Regions from separate parts of the Homo sapiens genome. Here regions 1 and 3 are each linked to region 2. Evidence: promoter capture Hi-C in 16 types of primary human blood cells and fetal thymus (Javierre and others, 2016). All regions are on one chromosome and are shown on one strand. Each heading gives the region's core, a stretch centred on a gene start or on the middle of the fragment in contact. The rest is flanking DNA. Distances are from core to core; before and after follow the strand shown. Region 1 holds the start of DCDC1 (doublecortin domain containing 1). Region 2 holds the start of QSER1 (glutamine and serine rich 1). Region 3 overlaps LOC105376622 (a long non-coding RNA gene).

Region 1 (2,773 bases), core at 239-2,738, 1.5 Mb before region 2:
GGAAGCTTAATGATCAGAAATTTATGTAAAAATTGTTTTAAGAAGTTTATTTTGGTATAAGCAGAGTGTAAGACAACTGTTCTCATTCAGTAAGCCAATGGCAAGTAAAGAAAAAAACAAGGTTCTAGTGAAGAAATGGGACTGCTATAATTTAAAAGATATTTAAGAGACAGAACAGCTAAATGGAAAGTGTACATTTTGTCTGATTCTGAGTCAAGCAAACCAACCAGAAAAAGACATTTTCAATTAACCGTGGAAATGTAAGTAAGGTCTAGATATTATGTGACAGTCCAATAATGACATTATGGAGATAAAAGAAAAAGTTGGTACATTTTAGGGATGCAAACTAAAGTATGTAGAGATGAAATGACAAAATATTTGGTATTGCTGGGGAAAAAAACTATTTCTTACTTTCCAAACCCCAATAAATAAATAAGGTAACACAATAACCTAATAAATAGTAAATCAAAATAAAATGCTTTTGCTGTAAAAAACAAAAAACCTGGAGTACCGGAGCATATCTACCTACACAAGGAAGAACCAAGCTGTGGACAGAAGGGAGTTTGAGGGCTAGAGATGTTCAAGGTGGCATCATTCTGACAGTACTGTTTAGAAAAGCATTCACCACACTACTTAATTCCATTGCTTTAGGTATTTTCATGAGGCCACACAAGAAAGTATGATGCAGCCAGGACTAAAACCAGATGCTCTTTGTATCTGCCTTTAAACATGACAAAACCCTGTGGAGAACCTAATCTATGCTTTCATCTTTAGATTTTTAAACTTGCTTGTTTCATTCAGTTATTCTTTATAGTTCATAACATCATTAAATAACTGATCATATTAGATTATTTTATTTATTCTGCTTAAGTTTATCTTGACTGCTTCTCAAACTCAGATTGGTAGAAGTTTAAAAAAGAAGGAAAGCAAAATCAAAGCAGTAACAACAAAACCATTTTAACATCTCCAAGTGAAATTTATGTCATGCTGGCCAAAAATAAGATGTAGTTTTCATCTCCAGGTACAATGCTAGGAAGAGGTGTTAATGTAAAGTAAGCAGCACAAAGAAGTAATAAAAGGAAACACAGGAATCAAGAAAGGGAGAAGAAAGAAAGGTGAGAAAAACACCACCACCACCACCACCACCACCACCAGCAACAATAACAAACCCCAACAGTGCCCATATGCAGTGCCCCCTAACTGCTTCGAAGAAGAACAGTTCATTCTGCTTTTTTCTGTAAGCTTGAAAGATAGCATAGCTGCCCTGGGAATGTGTAGACTTGCTGAGTCCTTGTTCTGCCCCTACCCAACTAGCTGTTTGGCCTTGATCCTTGATTTCTTTCCTCATCTATAAAGTGGGAATAATGGCACCTGCCTTACTTGTCTCACTGGGTTGAAATGAAAGCGAAGTGAAATAGCAAATGTGAAAGAATTTTGGAACGTTTTTATGTTGTAAGTTGGTTGCTAAGGTCTAAAAGAAATATTAATAATTACGTCGAATATCTTCTGCAGAAAAAATTAAACCGACCCCATCCCCCGCACATCTAGCCCTACCTGGCATAGGTTTTAGTTCTTTTAATTTTCGAATTAGAACATTGTAAAGGAACTGTAGGGACGAGAGTGGCATCAGGTCTCCTCATCCTTCTCACATCCTTGCCCCCGCACCCCTCTCTCACCCCAGAGTTCAAGCACCAACCGAAAAGATTGAGAGTAGCTCAGGGTACGGTAAACGGAGGAAGCTTTGAAAAAGGCGGGGAAAGCCTGGGATGGCGAGGGGGTGCTCGCTGAGGAGGAGGAGAGAAGCGACAGTCGCGGGGCCCGGAAAAGAGAGACTTAGAGCGAAGCCAAAGGCGCCTTTCTTCACAGTTTGGGAACTTACTGGTAGTAAACGCCACTCCATAGAAGCGGTGACCGGTTACCATAGAGACCGCGTCGGGGTGGGCGGAGCGTCGCTTCTGAGCTGTGCCACGGCCACATCAGCTCGGCCAGAAACGCGAACACGTCGGAACAGTGACTTCCGGCGGAAGAAGAAGCCGGTCCGGAGTTCTGGCCGACAGCAGGCGAGGAGTGGGTAGCAGCGCCTATGTGAAGTTAGGTAGGTCTGATGTCGTATAAAGCGCGGAGAGGGTGCCCGCCAATGGCTGGGTGGGTAAAGCCGACTGTGAATGGAGAAGATTCCCAAGTCCCGAGCTTGAGGAGGCCCCGGCTGTTTCGTTAAGTGTATATAGCTGTGGGAAGAGGTTGCCTGATTTCTGGGGCTCCTGGTAGGGTCTCTCTTCTGGAGCGTGGAAGACTGGGGCATCCTCGCGTAGAGAGTTTCACTCTGTCTTTGCGAGGTCTCAGCGCCTCTCCAATAACAGGGGACTCTTGTTCTCTACCAGCTGGTGCTGACGTTATTTCCCATATCATGCTCTCCAGACAATCTGGAGGAAAAGCAAACGAGAAACTTTCAGAAGGAATGCCCCCAAATTTATTTTAATTCTTTGATGTTCTGTTTTGCTTTTTTTTTATTCGTTCATTTTGTAAATATTCATTAAGCTCCTCCAGCGTGTTTAGTGGGTGCTTACTTGTGTGCCAGTTTTATCATAAGACTAGCAGAAATACCTTCTTAGAGGTTCATACACCACCTGGTTCATTATAAAATTCTTTTTTTTAATGCTGTTCATTAATTAAAGTATAAATATATATCGTGAAATACCTAACACGTTTTCCATACTTGTCGGTACACTTATACCTGGAATTCTTGGGGCATTTTAAATGAAAATCTGTGCTT
Region 2 (2,952 bases), core at 190-2,689:
ATTAACATAAAATTGGCAAAGTCGCTGTGCCTACACGTTTGAATTCATGTGTAAATAACGACTACTCACTTCCTTGCTTCCCCACCCGGGGACCAGGCTCCAAGCATCACAGGTGCAGAAAGACTTGCAAAAAGGAATGAATAGGAACAAAAGGATGTAGGCGCCAGGAGGAAAACAGGATCTTCCAGAACAAAATTAATCTCGCAAGGCATAGCAGATCCAACACCAGATTATTACCAAAGTTTAAACTTTTTCAATGGTCATCAGAGATAGCGTATCAAGTTTATTAGGTCTTTCACTACGGCTGATTTGCTTAAACCTTTATGTTATGCTTATCTTGAGGGATAGATTTCTGTGCTAAGCACATAATAGGTGTTAAACCAATATTGATTTTTAAAAGGAGGTGGTCATTAAATAGAAATTTTACTGTTATTTTAACCTTTAAATTTATGGCCCAAGGGCCAAACGATGATTTGTACGATTCCCTAGTTTCAATACTTGTGAGTTATTACAAGAAATACAACTCTGCTATGCAACAGAAGAACCGCAAATAGTCATTAAATTACCGCACACCAAGCAGCTTGGAGATCAGATAGGAAATGTTTGGGGAGAGAGTCCTGCTGAAGTTCCAAGTCTCAAACAAAACCCCTCAACATCAGAGTGCATGGTGAGTTTAAATTTATTGTAATTAAAGTCATCCAGATGGTAGTTGGATTAATCAATGAAGAGGTGGTTATCTATCTTGGGATAGAAGATTCTGAAACCCAGAGCGAGAAAAATCCCCAAGGTGGGGGTGGGGACAGTTAATAAGAGCCCTTGGGAAAGGCCCTTTCAGCGAGGATTGGAAAATAATACGTTTGAATTTGAATCTCTTTGAATATAAATCTCCCCTAACAGCAGGAAAAGGGTCCTCTAGCCCAGCAAGCTTTGGGGAGGGAGTAAGCGGAACTGCAAAAGAGCTCGCTCAGCTGTTTCTGGATTGGGGCGCAGAGAAAGAAATCGCGATCAGGGAACTGAGTACTGGAGTCCCTCAAAATAACCCGAAGGGTCAAATAGTGAGCTCCAAGCAAAGCGTTGACCCGGCTACCCCTGAGCAGCGCCCTACGCTGGGTTCCACTCCACTTCCCCTCCCCCGCGCGGGGCGATAGCCAGGCGCGGTCCCTTCCCACGCGGGCCGCGGCGAGTGCGGACAGCTCCCTTCCGGGCTGCGGAAGGCGGGAAGTCTGCGGTTCGCGGGCTCCGGCTGGCGGGCGCCCCTCGGAGTCCCTGAAGTCGGCCGGGCCCCGCAGGACCCGCGCCTTCTCGGCCCCAACTGTCCCTCGCGAAGCGTCCTGCGGTGGCGGAGGCCTCGCGGCCGCCCGCCAGCCCCGCGAGCGGCAAGCGCGGGGCTCAGAGGGGAGGCGGGGCAAGGCCGCGGGGCGGAGGGGGGCGGGAGGTGCATCCTGGGAAATCCACCAACATGGGGCGCAGCGGCCGCCGCCGCCGCCGCCGTCGCCGCGAGTCCCGGCCGCGGGTGCCTCCGCTTCCCTGACGCCCAGCTGGGGCCTCGCCGCCCGCCGCGGCCCGGGTCTTTGCGGCCCAGACTCGCCAGCGCGCCCTTCTCCCGCCTGCTCGCCGGGGCCATGTGAGGGGGCAGCTCCCTCCACCGCCGCCGCCCCCTCTTCCTCCCCCGCCCCCTCTCCCTGCCCGCCCCCGTCACACGGAGCCCTGGAGGATCCCCCGCTGCTGCCCGCCCTCCCTACGCCACCCCCACGATGGACAGGAACTACGCGACCTCGGGCTTCACCGAGCCGCCGCCGCCGCCGCCGCCCGCGCCCCCCGCCGCCCCCGTCCCCGCCAGCGCCGCTGCGCAGCCCCCCGCCCCAGCCTGGGCGTACGAACCCCGAGCCGCCGCCGCCGCCGCCAGCAGCAGCTGCAGCAGTGGCAGCTGCAGTAGCGGCAGCAGCCCCAGCCTCAAGGCCAGGTAGGGAGGGTGGGCGGCGGGGTCGCGGTGGACCAGGAAAGGCCGGGGATGCGTTTGGGGCCTTCGCTCGGTTGCAGCGCCGCCCAGAGGTCTGGGCCGGGCGGGGAGCCCTCCGCTCGCCCTCGGCCAGCTCGGGGGAGGCGGCTGATGACTCCTACGGGGTGGTCGCGGGTAGGTGGGGGCGCCCGGTGCAGGATTCGCGCCTGGGGACGGCGGGTGAAGGAATAGCTGGGCGGGAGTCGTGGGGCTCCGTCACCTCTTGGGTCCTGGGCTCTCACATGGTGAAGTTTGGGCTCGTGGCTGAACTCGGGATCTGTGAGACCCAGGATTGGCGCCGGGGGTCCGAAGGGGGCGCCGGAGAGTTTGGGGCAGTGGCGATCCATTGTATTGGAACCTGGGTGGCCGACAATGCGGTCTTGGGGACTCCGGCGTGTGAGGGTTGCGGAGGCGGGAGAGGAAGAGTCGCGGAACCGCGTCCCGGAGACACTGGGGGGCCCGGGAGGGCTGGGCTACGGGAGAATCCCCGGGGCGCAGGGCAGAAGAGGGGGCCCGGCAGGGCGCGAACGCGGCTCCAGGGCCGGGTGACATATGTTTGCGCTGGTGGCCAAGATTTAGGCGATTTTTCTTCCACGCGTTCAAAGTTGCTCTTAGGTTTCCTCCCCTTTTAACAACAGCAGGAAGTAAGGAATCTTTCTTTGCCTTCTATGCCTCGGGGTGACTGAGAGTTGGGAAGAAATGGGGCGGGGGTTGGGGTGGGGGTAGTGAAGGCCGTAAAGGTTGAAGAACCAAAGCATGCTTCTCCATCTCGGCCTTTAAGGTCCGGGTGCATTATGTAGCGTGGGGTTCAAGAGTTCATCTTGCATGACCAAGGGAATCTAAAATTTTGACTCCTACTTGATATTTAAGCTCGCGGGAAATGTGTAGTAGTGCCACACTGTGAAACGGTCCCATTTGAATGATAACTGGAAGGCGTGGTCTGGTTTGGAGAA
Region 3 (2,767 bases), core at 145-2,644, 1.5 Mb after region 2:
CAGACACCAGAGGACATCTGGGTTGCCTCCTCCCAAGTAGGCAATTATTCATATTAAAGCGGGAAAGATATGGTGCAGCCAAATAGGCAGAGCAGAAGGTATGTGCTGCTACTGCATATAACACCACTGCTACTTTTTAAAGCAAATCCCACCTTCTTCTTTGGCTTGCTCAAGCCTGTTCCACAGTGAACAGGAGTCATGGAGCTGTGGTGATGTTTATTCTCTTCTCTTAAAGCCAACAGCCAATACTGAATTGTAACTCTCTTTGTTTCTTGTTGTGTTCTTTTCTCTTCCTTTTTGCCTAACTCTGAATTTACCTCACAAGGCCACTGTGAAGAGAATGAAACTGAAATATGTAGAACATTCTCGGCCTCTCTGAGGATGGGTGGAATCAGAACAGAGTAATTACCCCTTGTGCTGTCTTGTATGCCTGTCATCCAACAACACATGATGTTCATTCTCTCCATTCTTTTCTTGCAATACTGATGAAATAAAATTTGTCTATAAAGATTCCTAGCTGAGTACTCAAATGTTTTTCTTGAACATTTGTTACATGGTCTACTTTGCAAGCTTGGTTTCAAATTTGTTGATACCAGGATTAATAACAGTATGTCTTGTGCCAGTATATTTTATTTTCATTGAGTTCTGAAAATTGACTTCAGAGAACAGCATTTTTAAAATAACATTTTTATTTATATCAATAAAAATACCCATGAATTCATATGACTAAAATATTAAAACCTAGAACCCAATTTGTTTACCTAACCAATCACTTGCAATTACCTTTAGGTAATTGTATTGGTTTGGTTTCAAGTATTTTTTAACTAGGGCTGATTTTAAGAAGTGTTTTCATTTAAGCTGTAATTATAGTCGATAGAACTTCCACCTAATATGTGACTTTTTTTAATTTTTAATTTTTTTGAGATGAAGCCTCACTCTGTCACCCAGGCTGGAGTGCAGTGGCACAATCTTGGCTCACTGCAACCTCCGCCTCTTGGGTTCAAGTGATTCTCTCGCCTCAGCCACCTGAGTAGCTGAGACTACAGGCGTGTGCCACCACGCCCAGCTAATTTTTGTATTTTTAGCAGAGGTGGGGTTTTACCATGTTGGCCAGACTGGTCTCGAACTTCTGGCCACAAGTGATCCGCCTGCCTCGGCCTCCCAAGGTGCTGGGATTACAGGCGTGAGCCCCCGCACCCAGCCTCCTATGTAACATTATAAATTTATTGTCATTACTTGTAAGCCTGCCCTTTATTTTAAAATACAAGATATGACAAGATCAGAAACCAGTCTTGTTTCTCCATTTCTTTCTCTAGAAATAATTCTTTAGGAATTCAAATCCATAGTAACAAAAACAAAGGAAAAAAAAACATGCTTTTTTTTATATAATGAATAAAGGTTAAGAAATGACTCCAGGTCTCTTATTTATTTTGTTGATATTTGTGTTGGTTAGTTAAGAAGATGATTTGCTCGATTATTTCAACATTTATTTATTCAACAAACTGTGGACTTTGGAGATGAACAGCTGAAGCTAGAATCCTGACTATCCCTTAATAGCTGTGTAACTTTGGGCAAGTTATTTAACCTCCCTATACCTCTGTTTCCTAATCTGTAAAATGAAGATAATATTAGTATCTAACTCATAGGGTTGTTGGGAGGGTTAACTAAGCAAATATACAAAAAGCTGAGAATAGTCCCTGGTATATAGTAAGTGCTCAATAAATTATGGATGGGAGGATCCTGACCCACATGGAGTTTACAGTCTTGGCAGTATGGATCGGGCAGGTAGAAAAAGACACCAAATTACACAGCCAACAGCATCTTTATAATTGTTTTTAATATAGGAAAAGTATAGGGTGCTAAAGATCAATTTGTGGCTTTCTTTTCCAATGAACTGCTAAAGTTCCACTTTTATGCCCAAGATTCTTATCATACTTTTGTAAGATCAAGAACAACATGTGAAGTTTCCACTATTATATATCCACCCATTATATGTAGTTGTACTGGAAAAAATTAAAAGCTGATAACTTTTAATTTGAAGATGATGGTATATACTATGTATATATATTAAGGTGCTTAAAGATAAATCCTAGCACCTGAGGAGGTGTAGAAATCATTCAAACTCTTTGATTACAATGACAAACTAGTCAGTAACTTACTAAATATTGTACTATATATTACTAAGTATTTTACTCTTCAACATAGCTTTTTAAAGACACAAAGCTTTTCAAAATTCCTGCTTACCTGGGGGTAAAATTTGGGGAAGCAGATTTCTCCAGTGTTTAAAGAAGCCAATTTGGCAGTGTACCAGAGTTGAATACATTTTTCCCATCACAAGGGAATACATTTTTCCCATCTAAGTTAAGTTGTTTTTCTCTGGTAAAGGAGGAAATCAACACCCATCTGTACGGAGATAAACGTTTCAGAGTGTTTTTATATTAAATAATTAGTATACTAGTCTAGTAAGTGATAATCCACGAATAAGTTAAGAAGAGCTAAGAAAGAAAAAGAAAAGCATCCATCCATCCTTTGGTTGCAAATAATACTTACATTAGCGTATGGCAAAATTTAATTTTGTACAGAGTAATTTAACCCAGGATTGCTGACTTTTTAAGAGCTGAGAAAGCATAGCTATGGAGCGCAAGGCCCCACCCAGCAGGGTCTAAGTATTCCGTCTGCAAAACTGGCAGGCCACCAACGGCCGCGTCCCAGGGCGGCCTGAAGGATGCTGATAACCGGGAGCCCCGCCCTGGGTTCGGCTATCCCG

Evidence for each region. Contacts are between HindIII fragments. The CHiCAGO score rates a contact against its expected background, and 5 or more counts as called.
Region 1: a fragment that was not itself captured here is called in contact with the fragment with the promoter of QSER1 in region 2 in 1 of 17 cell types (non-activated CD4 T cells); the score reaches 5.0 in non-activated CD4 T cells.
Region 3: a fragment that was not itself captured here is called in contact with the fragment with the promoter of QSER1 in region 2 in 1 of 17 cell types (naive CD8 T cells); the score reaches 5.4 in naive CD8 T cells.

The regions. Positions count from the first base shown.
Region 1 is chr11:31,367,818-31,370,590 of GRCh38, forward strand. DCDC1 (doublecortin domain containing 1) reads right to left here and starts at 1,922. Exons shown (of 39, transcript NM_001387274.1): 1 at 1,880-1,922. It overlaps DNAJC24 (DnaJ heat shock protein family (Hsp40) member C24), which reads left to right and starts at 2,043. Exons shown (of 5, transcript NM_181706.5): 1 at 2,043-2,095. RefSeq lists an enhancer at 1,856-2,335. The HindIII fragment of the contact is 497 bases long and covers 1,241-1,737 here.
Region 2 is chr11:32,891,372-32,894,323 of GRCh38, forward strand. QSER1 (glutamine and serine rich 1) reads left to right here and starts at 1,440. Exons shown (of 13, transcript NM_001076786.3): 1 at 1,440-1,963. The coding sequence starts at 1,755. RefSeq lists an enhancer at 1-365 and silencers at 1,113-1,732, 1,813-2,212. The HindIII fragment of the contact is 2,155 bases long and covers 924-2,952 here.
Region 3 is chr11:34,435,921-34,438,687 of GRCh38, forward strand. It overlaps LOC105376622 (a long non-coding RNA gene), which reads left to right. Exons shown (of 3, transcript XR_931180.3): 3 at 326-402. Among named protein-coding and RNA genes, the nearest start is that of CAT, 1.6 kb to the right of the region's middle. The HindIII fragment of the contact is 1,653 bases long and covers 569-2,221 here.